3 separate regions of the Homo sapiens genome follow, and all the other regions are linked to region 1. Evidence: promoter capture Hi-C in human tissues and cell types (Jung and others, 2019). All regions are on one chromosome and are shown on one strand. Each heading gives the region's core, a stretch centred on a gene start or on the middle of the fragment in contact. The rest is flanking DNA. Distances are from core to core; before and after follow the strand shown.

What was found. Contacts are between HindIII fragments. The study calls those that stand out against the background at their distance.
Region 2: a contact is called between a fragment that was not itself captured here and the fragment with the promoter of SLC25A13 in region 1, in 1 of the 25 tissues and cell types used here (dorsolateral prefrontal cortex).
Region 3: a contact is called between a fragment that was not itself captured here and the fragment with the promoter of SLC25A13 in region 1, in 1 of the 25 tissues and cell types used here (dorsolateral prefrontal cortex).

The regions. Positions count from the first base shown.
Region 1 is chr7:96,320,208-96,324,949 of GRCh38, forward strand. SLC25A13 (solute carrier family 25 member 13) reads right to left here and starts at 1,891. Exons shown (of 18, transcript NM_014251.3): 1 at 1,735-1,891. The coding sequence starts at 1,749. RefSeq lists a silencer at 1,687-2,026. The HindIII fragment of the contact is 12,396 bases long and covers 1-4,742 here.
Region 2 is chr7:97,397,232-97,401,973 of GRCh38, forward strand. All of the region lies in intron 2 of LOC105375416 (a long non-coding RNA gene), which reads right to left. Among named protein-coding and RNA genes, the nearest start is that of SDHAF3, 280 kb to the left of the region's middle. RefSeq lists enhancers at 31-531, 3,160-4,359. The HindIII fragment of the contact is 5,687 bases long and covers 1-4,742 here.
Region 3 is chr7:97,368,498-97,373,239 of GRCh38, forward strand. The region is part of intron 2 of LOC105375416 (a long non-coding RNA gene); the gene reads right to left. Among named protein-coding and RNA genes, the nearest start is that of SDHAF3, 250 kb to the left of the region's middle. The HindIII fragment of the contact is 3,688 bases long and covers 238-3,925 here.

The sequences.
Region 1 (4,742 bases), core at 641-3,140:
CGTTGGCCAGGCTGGTCTCGAACTCCTGGCCTCAACTGACCCGCCCGCCCCAGCCTCCCAAAGTGCTGGGATTACAGGCATGAGCCACAGCACCAGGTCACTTATTTTACTTAATATTACTCAAGTCTTATACTCCATTTCTATGCACACGTCTCAATTTATGTTCCTCAATTACCTTATCTCCTAATAAAGTAAAAGTATTTACATTACCTGCAGATATAAAACTAACAGTAAAGAATGGGTACCTAGTCCCACCTACTCTAGGGAATTAGTTCATACCAAGCCTTGTACCTTGGTTGCATGCAAATTTAATGCAAAAAAAAGGTCAAGGGCTATTGGGCTTGAAAGGGTTAAGGCAGCTTCCAAAATTGAATCCTAGTGATGCTCAGAGAAACTGCTGAAAAGTTATAGATAGATATACACACGCACACCTGTGTGTTCATATGCAAACATACATGAGCCCACACACCCAGAGTACTTTCCTAAGGATGAAACTCAGAGTAATTACAGAAAAGAGAAATGCCACTTAGACCACAGAAACTAACAACATGAAGAAGCCTACGGATTTGGGGAGCCTGGAGAGACTTAAGTCATAGAACAGCATTTAAATATATTTGTCTGCTTACAATTTCCATTGCAAATGTGATTAGTTTGCTTGAATAAATAGGAATATGATGTGTTGGCCATGTTTTCCTCTTGAGGGTTATCACAGAGTTTTGATTAAGGACAAATGTTTGAAATGTTAGGTATATTTAAGTTCACTGCACTTAAAATGAGCTAAGAAGTTGTATAGGCTTGATTAGAGGGCTGCCTTCGTGAACTTAAATTAAAAGCAATAAATTCCAAATGATTCAAGTGATTGGGACTAAATATGGTATTCTGCCAGAGAAGTTGAAATGCAGTCCAAAGAGACTGAAATGGTGTCCAGGTTTCAAGAAATGGTGAAAGAGGAAAGGTCAAGTGTTGGAGTTGCCTTTCCTCTGGGTTAGTGAATGATTCACATTACACAGAACCCCTTTCAAGTACAACTTCACAGGAGTGACAGGCTCCCAGGACAATCTGTTTCATCGTTCCCAAAAAGAAGCCTCTCAAATGCTCCGAGGCGGGTATCTAAGTGTTGTCAGATGGAGAGAGGGAGGGGGAAGATGGGAATGATGGGAAAGCGGGGAGGGGGAGAGTCCCTGGACTTTTTATTCACAAAGGCGCAGACCAAGTCTCCTAGGCAGTTTCCAAAACGGAAGTCAAAGTAACTTCCCCACCCGCGGGAGGGCGGAGCCCTTGAAACGTAATAGGATCAGGCTTCAGCCCGGGCTCTGGCCCCTGGAAGAAGCCGGAGTCAACAACCAGCGGGGTCAGGAGCAGGAGCGCGCTGGGAAGGTAGAGAGGACCCCCAGCGCTTGCCGGCCCAGGGTGCACCAGGCCCCAGTCGCGCCCGCTCCTCCTCGTCGGCCCTGGCTCAGCCCCGTCAGGCACCAACTTCCCTCCCCGGCCAAGTGGGAGTGTCCGGCCCACAAAGTTTCCGCTGCGAGGTCGGGCCTCGGTCTCTGCACCGACCGCCTGTGCTGCCCGGGAGGAGTGGCCCCCTCCCTCCAGCAGCCGCAAGGTGGAACGGCTGCCCGGCACCCCATTTTGCTCCGCCTGTGGCACCAACCCAGACACGTGAGCGCCCGAGCCTCTCGCACCCCCAGGCTGATCCGGCAGGCGCGCTCCCCCCGGCCTCGGGCCCGCGGTTACCTTGGCGGCCGCCATGATTCGCCCCGGTTGCGGGCGACTGCGGGACCCACTGACTGGCTGGCTGGCGTTTGGGACCCGGGCGGCTCACTTCTAGTCCCGGCGGCGGCGGCGGTGGGGGCGGCGATACGGCCAGGCAGCGTGCGTTCCTGGCCTGCCTCCCCACGCCCTCCCGCCGGCGCGGGTCATGTGGATGCTGCCCGCCCATTGGCTGGGCCCAGCCTTGGCCGCCGGGGTGCGCGTGATCCAGCGGCCTCTGCCCTGCAGCCGGGGAGGGCTCAGATCCTGGGGCAGTGGCTGGACAGGGACACGTGACCCCGCTGCGCTGTCCAGCAGCGGCGGCCTCTGCGGCGTGGGCAGAGGTAACTTGGCCGTGTGCAAGCCCGTCACCTGAGGGCAGGTGGCCCCACCAGGGAAGCTGCTGGCTTCTGCTGATACCAGGGGCTACTGGGCCCTCGGACCGATGGGAGGGGCAAGTAACGACAGATGGTGCACGGCCTGGGGAAGTTGAGAACTCCACTAGGACACATACTTTGCTGGATATTTTTTCCCCTGTGCGTTCCCTTTGAAGGAGCTCCACTTTACACTGGATCCAAAAAGACTTTGATCCAAAAGCATTGACTTAGAAGGCGAGATTGCAAATATTGCTGGCACGCCTACTTTTAGATCAAAATCGGTGAACTCTTAAGAACCCAACAAGTGAATGTAGTGCAGAACGTATATTCATGAAACTACTCCATTTCAGCCCTACCTGTTAAAACGGTAGAAGTCAAAAGGCCCGGGTCAAAAGACTTCCCCCAAATAGGCCCTACTAAAATAAATAAACAAGCATTTTAATGAAAATTTGCTTATATGACCTCCAGGCCTTACTCCTCTTCATCAGGATTTCATTCTTCTGTCCTTGTAATCAAAATTTATAAGACAGTGGTGATCAGGGAAAAGGACTTTTAATGTATTGTAGGTTGTGGATGTAATATGGCAGCAAAAAGCACTTATTACTAATCAGTTTAATTCATTAACGTTGATTGAGTGCCTTCCTACTATGTGCTAGGCACTGTGCTTGGTGCTGGAAACCCCGAAATGACTTAAGAACTGGTTCCAACCGTTAAACAGCTTCAGGGCTATTGGGAAAGAGACACATAAATGTTTACTTCAGTATAACCTGTTAAGGCAGCAGACTGTTCCCAGGGCTCAATAAGAATACTGAGAATTCTCATGCCACTATGAAGAAATACCTGAGACTGGGTAATTTATAAACCAAAAGATTTAATTGACTCAGTTTCGCATGGTTTGGGAGACCTCAGGAAACTTACAGTTGTGGTGGAAGGCACCTCTTTACAGGGTTGCAGGAGAGAGAATGAGTGCCAAGCAAAGGGGGGAAAGCCCCTTGTAAAACCATCAGATCTCATAAGAACTCACTATCACAAGAACAGCATGGGAGTAACCGCCCCCATGATTCCGTTGTCTCTCACCGGGTCCTTCCCATGACATGTGGGGATTATGGGAACTACAATTTAAGATGAGATTTGGGTAGTGACACGGTCAAACCATATCAAAAGGTAACTTGATCTTGAGCTATGGGATTGGGGCAGTGGCACGACTAGTGGAAGGAGTCTGGCCCAGCAGGTAGGGGCTGTGTCATGGTGGGTCTTAGGCGCCTTGCTGAAGGGTATGCACCTTAACTGAAGGGTTTTAAGTCAGGAAGCAGCATGACTAGGTTTTCGATATAGAAAGATCTCTCTATGGTCTGAATGTGCCCCCCAAAATTGATGTGTTGGATACAATCTCTAATGCATCAGTGTTGGAAGGTTGGGTCCTTGGGGAGGTATTTTCATCACAAGGGCTCTGCCCTCATAAATGGATTAATGCTGCCATAAAAAGAGGTTTGGGGAGTGGGTTCACTCTCTCTTGCTCTTCTGCTCTTTTGCCATATAAGAACATAGCATTCCTCACCTTTGAAGGACACAGCATTCAAAGAGCCATCTTGGAAGCAGAGAAACCAGGCCGTAACCTGCCAGCACTTTGATCTTGGACTTCCTAGCGTCTAGAACTGTGAGAAATACATTTCCGTCCTGTTCTTCTAGTCTCAGGAATTCCCTTACAGCAACACAAAATGGACTAAAACACTGCTTGCAGTATGGAGGATGGGTTCCAACTGAACTACCAGGATGTCCAGACGAGACAGGCTGGGGATGGGCTAGGACTAGAGGAATACATAGAAGGTAAAATTAGTGGGGTTGGGACGGAAAAAGGGAGTTGTGCCATATTGCACATAGACTTGTGGTATGGGTGTCTGGAAAAACACCTGAGATTGGTAATTCAAGAGGAGTGTTTTGAGGTGTGTGAGTCTGTCTGTAAGGAGAATGTATGTCCAACATACAAATTATGTTGTAGAAGCTTAAGAAAGAAGCATTACAGAAAGAAGCAACTATTTAACCTACTCTCAAAAGGTTCAACAAAGCCCAGAAGACTTGACCATGTTCATAGGCAGAGAAGAAAGATCAGCAAAAAGTAAAAAAAAAAAAAAGACAAAAGGAAAACCAGGAGAATTGTTAGAGAAAATTATGACAAGGGGACAAGTCTGAAGCTCCTGTGGAGGATGGCCCCAGCTGCCACAAGGGGAGTGTAAAAGGAGGTGAGAAAATACAACCTCATGTAAAGAACAAAATTACATCATGTACCACGTATTTATTTTTAAGGGCATCATTAAAGCTCTCCTTTTATAATGTAAATGAAACAAAAAATTTTTAATGTAATAAAATATACATAAAATGTACCATCTTGACCATTTTGAAATGTACAGTTTAGTAGTGAAATACTTTCACATTGTTGTGCAGCCAATCTCCAGAACTCTTTTCATCTTGCAAAGCTGAAACTCTGTACTCATTAAACAACCACTCCATCTCCCAACCCCCTGACAACCACCATTCTACTTTGCTCCTATAAATCTGACTACTCTAGGTACCTAATAAATGGAATCATATGGTATTTGTGTTTTGTAGCATAATGTC
Region 2 (4,742 bases), core at 960-3,459, 1.1 Mb after region 1:
TTCTATTGACTATTTTCTATTTCACTAATTTTTAGTTTTGTCTCTTAATTCTACACATCTAATTTCTTTAAATTTATTGTTTTTCTCTTTCTAACTTCTTAAAGTTGGATATTTAGCTCATGTATTTTTAGATTATTTTTCTTTTCTGATACAAGTAATCAAGGCTATCACACTGTTTTCTCCTAGCCTCCAAACCACCCTTCTCTCATTTGCTTTGTGATGCTGAGACAGACACTCTTCAAATCACATTTTTCCTTTCTACCTAGTTCCCTGTTAGCTTCTTCCAGTAGCCACTAAATGGAGATGAGGAGACTGGAGAGAAGGAAAGGAAACTGCTCCTGCCAGTTTTGCTTCCTGTTTCTGTAAGTGGCATTTCTGCAATGTTTTTCACTTTGGCAGCAGCATTTGGTTCCAGTTTCTTCTATAGTCTCAGAATTAGCCTCACTGTGTCCCCTCAGAGATACCAACATCAGCTGGCTGGAAGCAGGACTGCTTCCTCTGAACTCCCAAATACCAGCACCAGCTGGACAATACCTTCTTACCAGAGGTCTGGGTCCCACCTCTGCAGAGTCCTGCTCCAAGCTGTTAAATTGGGAGAACCCCCACTCTTCCTTTTCACATTCAGCTCCAGGAGTAGCAGATGCTGCCTGCAACTAGCATCCCTGGGTCACCTCAGAGGTCTCCTTCTGCTCTTTCAGTTGTCCTAAAGCCTCTTTAAACAATTCCTGATGTTAAAATTTTCTGCTTCCTTGAATGGACCCTGACTGATACAGTTATAGGCTATTTGGATTTACTATTTCCTCATAGGTCAGTTTTAGTGACTTGTATCATTCTAGGTCTTGGACCATTCCACCTGTTTCAAATTTATTTCCTTATAGTTGTTCACAGTAGCTTCTGCATGATTTCTGCAGCCTAGGTACTTACAGCACCTTTTTCATTTTTAGACTTCTTTTCTAAAGTGGTAAAACATTCCCTTAATACAAAGACGCTTTAGTTGGATCCTGCAAGTTTTTATATATAATTCCTTCATTTAGATTTGTGGTTCTAACTATTTTATATTTCCATTGTAGTTTCTTCTTTTAACCATGGGTAATTAAGGCATATGTTTAAATTCCAAGTGTAGATTTGAAATATGTAGATTTTTAAAGATACCTTTCTGGTAATTATTATCTAATTCAATTTTTGGGAAGTCCAATATTAAGACATGTATGATACAGGTTTTTGAAATTAGGTGACATTTCTTTAAGTACAGTTCATAATGTATTCTTTAAAAACATTCCATGTATGCTTGAAAAGAATGTGTACTCTCAAACAGGGAGTACAGCATTCTATATATGTACACTAGAATAAGGTTTTAAATTGTGCTGTTCAAATCCTCATCCTTTGTGATTTCTCCTTGCCTACGCTTTAAGTCAGTTACTGAAATATGTCTGATATAATCTCTCACCATGCTGGTGCATTCATTTCATCCTTTTAATTTTGTCAAATTTTGCTCTGTGTATTTTAAGCTATGTCATTGGGTATATATGATGTCAGATTATCTCTTCTTGGTGAATTAAAAATTTCATATATGTGGGATCCCGTTATTTTCATGCTACCTTTGTCTTAAAGTCTATTTTGTTTGATAGCATTTTGCCTATACCACAATGCTTTGGTTGGTATTTGCCTAAAGCATAATTTCCCATCTTTTCATTCACTACCTTTAAATGTCTATTTTTTTCCACGTATGTTGGAGTGTACAACTAAGTTCAATAATCTAATCTAATAATAAAATAATTTGCAATTTTTGTTTTAGCATTTTTTTGCAATTTAATGTATAGAATGAATTTATTAAATTTAATTAATTGGATTGATACAGTTAAAGAATGTTCTGTTGGCTGAATTCTTTTTACCTTAATAATGTAATATGTAATAATTTTTTGTAGTATTTTAATAATAATATATAATAATTTAAAAATAAAATGTAATAAAGTTGTATCTGAAGACTGAGTTAGGAAAAAGTTCCAAAGGCAAATTCCTGGAACTCTAGAAAAAAAGAATGGTGGCAAGTGTCAACAGAACTGATGTGTAAAATGACAACAGGGAAAACTATACAACTGTACCGCTGTGGAAAATAAAATCATATAATTGAGGAAAACTGTTCTATCACATGTCTTACATTTTAAAACTTGTCAGGAAAAGTTACTTATTTATATATTTTAAAGATATAGTGGCTTTATGTACACCTGTACTTTTCCAAAATACAATGAATATGACCAGTATCTTTACAGACGAAGCTGTGACTAAGCTTGTGCCTGAGGGAAAAACTGAAAATCAGAATGTCTGTTTTTTTCCAACATAGATACATTTTCAACTGGAGATTTAATAAGCTTTCTGCTCCTAGTGACTTACCTCATGATGTATCATGTATATTCCCTTATAATCATGATTTTTTTTTTTTTTTTACTTTTCAGGTTTAGAATAAATCTTCACTATTTCCTACCCAATGGCAAACACTTAAGGGAACTCACTGAAGTTTGGATGACTGATGAAGTATATAACAAACCCTGACTTTCCCAATATCCTAGCCCTACATAATGCTTTTTGGTGAAGGTTAAATGAAAAAATTTAAGGCAACAGTATTTGTACTGTGACCATTCCAGGAAGATAGCTCCCTGATTTTAAAAATTCAAAATGGGATATATACTTGAACTAACACATACACTACAATAGCCTTGCTGTAGTTTCATCATAGTTATCAAAACCCACAAATATGTTTTGCCTGGGTAACACGAAGTAGGAGAAATAACCCCTAAATCCTTCATATGCTTAACTCTTACTTGGACATTGTTGCCAATTAATTATGAAGGAGTTTATTTTTTATTTGTAAATAGAATGTATGAGGAAAAGGAAGGAAAGTTTACTTTATACCCACAGGAAAATCAGGCCCAAAGACATATACAGCACGACCAGAAGAGGTAAGGCACAGTTGTCTGAAGGATAATAGAACAGGTTTTTGTTAACTCACTATGTCCAGGCCAAAACCTTCCAACCATGATTATATTATAAGAAACTAGTGGCTGGGGACGGTGGCTCACTCCTGTAATTCCAGCACTTTGGGAGTCCGAGCTGGGCTGATCACAAGGTCAGGAGTTCGAGACCAGCCTGGCCAACATGGTGAAACCCCGTCTCTAGTAAAAACACAACAAAATTAGCCAGGCACAGTGGCACGTGCCTATAATCCCAGCTACTTGGGAGGCTGAGGCAGGAGAATCGCTTGAACCTGGGAGGTGGATGGAGGTTGCAGTGAGCCAAGATCATGCCACTGCACTCCAGTCTGGGTGACAGAGCGAGACTCCGTCTCAAAAAAAAAAAAAGAAACTAGTGAACATTTTTGCTACATTAAAAGTGCTGTTTCCTAAACGAGAGAACACAAACAAAGCCCAAAATATTTCTTTATTTTTACTTAGTTATTTATTTATTTTGAGACGGAGTCTCGCTCTGTCGCCCAGGCTGGAATGCAGTGGCGTGATCTCAGCTCACTGCAAGCTCCGCCTGGTGAAAACCCAAAATATTTCTAAAATGCACATGTTTTCTGACACTTCAGCTAACTCACAATGACTTGGCAACAATTTGAGTTACTAGTAGAAATCTCAATGGCTTTAAACTTTGAGTTTCTGGGATATTTTATCAGTGTAGCATGAAAAAATATATTAAATATATGCATTTAAGTAGTAATCTATTTTAACTCTGTATGTATAGTTTAAAAAAATAGCTATCCTAAGAATGGTTTTGTTTATTGTTCCACATATTTAAAACGTTGTATCTTATGCTTTTTTGTTTACTATGAATCTCTAGGTTCACATGGAGGATATCTAAAAGCTGTAATCTGTGGTCTTGAATTTACATGTTCCCAGTATTTACATCCTGATTCTTTTAAAACCTTGTTCACATTATGTGGGTATCCACAGGAGGTTTTAGGAGAAACTCAACTGGGATTATATATATGCTGAAAAAGATGCCACTGAAGATCAAGTTTAACTTTTTTCTGAGGTATGCTTCCCATGACTTTGGTTGTGTGCCTATCCTAGACATTAAACATTTAGCCACTGATTTGTGGACCATGATAGTTTGCTACAGATCAACCTGGCACACAAACAGAGGTTGGAGCATGATCCACTTTGAATAAAGGAGCTTTGCAGGCCGTTGGTTCAGGAGACCCCCTTATGGCTTGAATAAGGGGCTAAACACACCTTCTGACATTCGTCAAATAATTATGGGCTCTTTTTGCCTCTTGTGGGAAACAAATAGGTTTAGAAATTGTGGCTATCATCTACACAGAAAGCCAAAAAAAAATTGGCATCTTTCCCAGAATAAAATCTTTGCATTGATGCAAGAAACGGACATGTAGTGTTGACAAAATTCCTGAGAGAGGTACCTCTGTCTTAGAATTATGTTGTCTTTCAGTGTGCAGCCAGAGACCTCCCTAGTGAACCCAGTTAACCGAGGTAATATGGTGGACTGTTCCCAGGGCCGTGCCTCCCCACCAGAGGGAAGTGTTATGGTGCCTCTTTCTGACTCTCATTCCCAGTCTCTGAGCCCAGAGCTGTTGAGACATGTGAAAGAAAGAAAACCCCACAAAGAGCTAAAAACAATGAGGAAACCTGAAAGTGTTTCAACATTATTTTGAAGTGAGAATGAAGGGCAGCAGAAAAATCCTCCCATCTCTGTCAGTTTCTACAACCTCACTGACTAGTTTCCAA
Region 3 (4,742 bases), core at 832-3,331, 1.0 Mb after region 1:
ACCGTACAATTCAGCAAGCTCACTACTTGGTATCTATCCAAAGGAAAGAAAGTCATTATATCAAAGGGATACCTGCACCCCATGTTTATTGCAGCATTATTCACAATAGCCAAGATATAGAATCAATCTATTAATAAGAAAATGTGGTATATATACACAATGGAATACCATTTAGCCATAAAAAAAGAGTAAAATCCTGTAATTTGCAACAACATGGATAGGACTGGAGGTCATCATGTTAAGTAAAATAAGCCAGGCACAGACATACAAATACCATATGCTATTCCTTGTATGTGGGAACTAAAGGTAGAGAGTAGAATGATAGATGTCAGAGGGTGGAAAGGAAGTATATGTGGATGGGCGGGGGTTGGTTATGACCTATAGAAATAAGTTTTAATGTTCGATAGCAGAATAAGGTGATGATAGTTAACAAAAATGTATTGTATATTTCAAAATAGCTAGAAGAGAGGACTGGAAATGTTCCCAACACACAGTCATAAATATTTGAGGTGATGGATATCCTAAATACTCTGACTTTATCATTACACATTCTACATATGTAACAAAATATCACACGTACCTCACAAACGTGTAGAAATGCTATGTATTATTATTATTTTTTTTTTATTTTTGAGACGGAGTCTTGCTTTGTCACCCAGGCTGGAGTACAGTGGCTCGATCTCAGCTCACTGCAACTTCTGCCTCCCGGGTTCTCAGGCAATTCTCCTGCCTCAGCCTCCCAAGTAGCTGGGACTACAGGTGCGTGCCACCACACCCAGCTAATTTTTTGTACTCTTAGTAGAGACAGGGTTTCACTGTATTAGCCAGGGTGGTCTCAATCTCCTGACCTCATGATCTGCCCACCTCGGCCTCCCAAAGTGCTGGGATTACAGGCATGAGCCACTGCGCCTGGTTTATTATTATTATTAATTAATAATAATAATTAATAATATTATTATTTATTATTATTATTAATTAATAATAATTAATAATATTATTATTTATTATTATTATTATTTTAAACAAAGGCCTCAGAACCAGGGGGCCAAAGGTGTAAATCTCAGTCCAATGAGAACACTGATGACCCAGCTCAAGCAAGTATGTAGGAATAAAAAGGGGTAAATTCCTCCTTCCTCCACCTTTTTTTTTTCTCCTTTTGAGGGCCTCAAGACATTGAATGTTGCCCACCTTCATTGAGAAGGGCAATCTACTTTAGTGAGTCCACTGTTTCAAATGCTAATTTCATTTGGAACAACCTCACAGACACACTTGGAAATGCCGTTTAATTTGGAAACTCCATGGAGCAGTCCAGTTGACATGGTTACCATGCCAGTCCTCTTAACCTTTTTCAGAGAATCAGCTTTCTTGGTAATCTGGACCCCTGGAAAAGTGTGTATATGTACCACATTTTTGTTGTACCCAGGGGATCCCTGAACTCATCTGTGAGCTGGTTAAAGCCTTGGACCCGCCCTCTTAGCAAACTGTCCACATCTTGTCCCCTGCACTCTGCACCACGACAATCAGGTGTCTTTCCTTGTGCACCTCTCCGCCTTATGGCGACATGAGGCACTTGCCACCTCTAAGGGTAAATCACTTGCTTTATTTAGTTCCTTCTCACAAATCAGATGGTGGACAATATAGAGCTAACATAAATAAAATAATGAAATGAACACAACCCTAGACCCCAGAAAGATTATGAACAAACCTTACTGAGTGGGGAAAAAATCTGACACCACTAAAACTTTCTCCAGCCCTACCAGCATTACTATGAAGTGTCTGATTGGTTTCAGGCTTTCACCAAAGTTGATACACACTATATTTTTTTTACCTGTAACTCAAGGGGACAAGTTTGGGATGTGGTCCTTTCATATTCATCCTATGCATACAGTGGTTCCAGGTTGGGTTCCCAGGAAAACAGATGCTGAGACGGAGGTTAGTGTGCAGGCTGTTTATTAGGGAGTCACACTTTGGAAATTAACACCTGTGGAAACAAGGGGTAGAACAAGTGTGGGCACAGGGAGATGTTAAGCTGTGAGGCAGGCCTGAGGACAGCCTCTGCCAATCCTCCAGCTTGCAGTAGAGCTAAGATGGCCCTTCAGAGTTGGCCTGCATTGGGAGGAATTGGCTGTGTCCTTATACTTCCTATCTCCGTCAATCACTGGGTGTTGGCGTCCCAGGAAATACTTGACTTTTGACCAGGTGGCCCCCTGCAGCTGGAGCAATCCCTGAAGCAATCTACAGCAAAAGACTATCTGCTGACATCATTCTTCCAGCAGCGGGGCCACAATCCCTTTTAGAAGGGTGCTTCTCCATGTCCATCACACAAGCTGATCCACTTTAAGTAAGCTTCAATTCACACTAGTTTGGTTGGTTTTAAATGGAGTCTGTTTCAGAAAAGCAGGATTTCTACTCTCAGAACTAATTCATTCAAATAATATTCATAAAATGCCTATGATGTGCCAGTTACTGTTTTAGGTGATGATGATATGGTGCTGAAAAGACTCTACCCTCAGTCTAGTGGAGGACTTAGAAAATAAAAAGATAAGGCAATAAATAACATAATTTCAGATAATGACAAGTGCCTTGAAGAAATTAAAGCAGGGTGAGAAAATAAAAAATGACTGGGTAGGGGTGAAGGAGGTGCTAGCTTAGGTTAGTGGTCAGGGAAGGTGACATTTGAGTAGAGACTTGATTGAAAGGTAAGGCAAGTCCTGTGAAACTCTGGGGCTAAGAGTGTTTCATGCAGAGAAAAGGAAATGTAAAGACCTCGAGCACAACTGAGCTTTGCACATTTAGGGGGCAGCAAGGCCAGCTAGGGGGAGTGATAGAGAAGGGGTAGGGTCAGAGAATCAAGGCCTATGGGGCCAGGGGGCCTGAAAAGGAATGGAGATTCATTTTAAATATAATTGAAAATCCCTGGAGAGCTTTCAACAGCATAGAGACAAAACCTACTTTACATTTTAAAACTGTCTGTGGAGAATGGGCAAGAGGATGTGTGGAAATAAAGATAATGGATTCAACATTTTTTATTGTAGTAAAATATGCGTAACATTGAATTTACTATTTTAAAGTTTTTTGAGTGTACAATTCAGTACATTCACACTTGTGCAACTGAAACCGACCCAATAGTCCCACAGAGGGTTCTTTTGGATAAACGTAGAAATTGACCCCTCTGGTCTTACAGCTTGAAACTCACAACTGTTTTTTTTTGTTTGTTTGTTTTGTTTTGTTTTGTTTTGTTTTTGAGACAGAGTCTCGCTCTATCACCCAGGATGGAGTACAGTGGCGCAATCTCGGCTCACTGCAAACTCTACCTCCTGGGTTCACGCATTCTCCTGCCTCAGCCTCCCGAGTGGCTGGGACTATAGGCGCCCGCCACAACGCGTCGCTAATTTTCTTTTTTGTATTTTTAGTAGAGGCGGGGTTTCACAGTGTTAGCCAGGATAGTCTAGATCTCCTGACCTCGTGATCCGCCCGCCTCAGCCTCCCAAAGTGCTGGGATTATAGGCGTGAGCCACCGCGCCTGGCCAACCCACAATTGTTTTATCTGAATTCTTTCCTCAGGAAATAACCCCCAGGCCTCTCAAAAAGTATCAAAGAACTGAAACTCACCAGATTACTGCATCCAGAGCCAGGCCTCTCATATTGTTTTCCTACTCTTCCCTAGTTCCGGTTCCCTCACACATTGTTACATTTCTTGCCTGCTATATAAACCCCTAATTTTAATCAGTCAGGGAGATGGATTTGAGACTGAGCTCCCATTTCCTTGGCTGCATCACCCGATTAAATCCCTCTTCCTTTGCAATACTCGTCATCTCAGTCATTGGCCTTCTGTGCAGTGAGCAGCAGGCACTAGACTGAAGCCTTGTTGTTTCAGGAACACAACCATCACCACTATCCATCTCCAGAAATTTTCCATCAGTCAAACAGAAGCTCTGTACCTATTAAACAATAGCTCTTCATTTCCCTCTCCCTCCAGCCCCTGGTAACCATTATTCTATTCTTTCTATATGAATTTGACTATTCTAGGTATCTAAGTGGAAGTACACAGTATTTGTCCTTCTCTGTCTGGCTTATTTCACTTAGTGTAATGTTTTCAAGGTTCATCCATGTTATAGCATGTATCAGAATTTTATTCATTTTTGAAATTGAATATTTTATTCCATGTTCATACCACATTTGTTCATCCAACCATCAGTGAAAGTTTAGGTTGCCACAGCTTCCACTAATCACTACACCCTACAAAATGAACTTCATTGTATATTATGTTCATTGTCAATGAAAATAGATAAAAATCCATACATTGTCTTCTTGCTTATTTTGAATTTTGGTGGTCTGTTTTCTTATAACATCAGCTTATCATAATTCATCTCAGGTTGATAAAGATTTTGCACTAGGAGGAGAAGCTCTACATAAAAGTCTTTTCGTTGTTGTCCAAGGAAAAACTTGCTATTTTTTTGTTAGTATTATCTTCAAAATGTACTTTACAGGAATGTTTTTAATTCACTTGCCTAGTTTGTGAGAATTAAATTAGTTAAAATTACAAATATAATTTCTACATCCACTTAATTATTGCACAACAATTCTACAAGCCCACTGCCCTTGATAGAATATTATTTTCCATGTTGGCAGGAATGAGGAGGTGTCCCAGTGACACAGAATGAGGTCTGGCACATAGGAGATGCTCAGTGAGTATTTGTTGACTGTAAAGTTTAATAACATGCAGGAGGGTACCATCTACT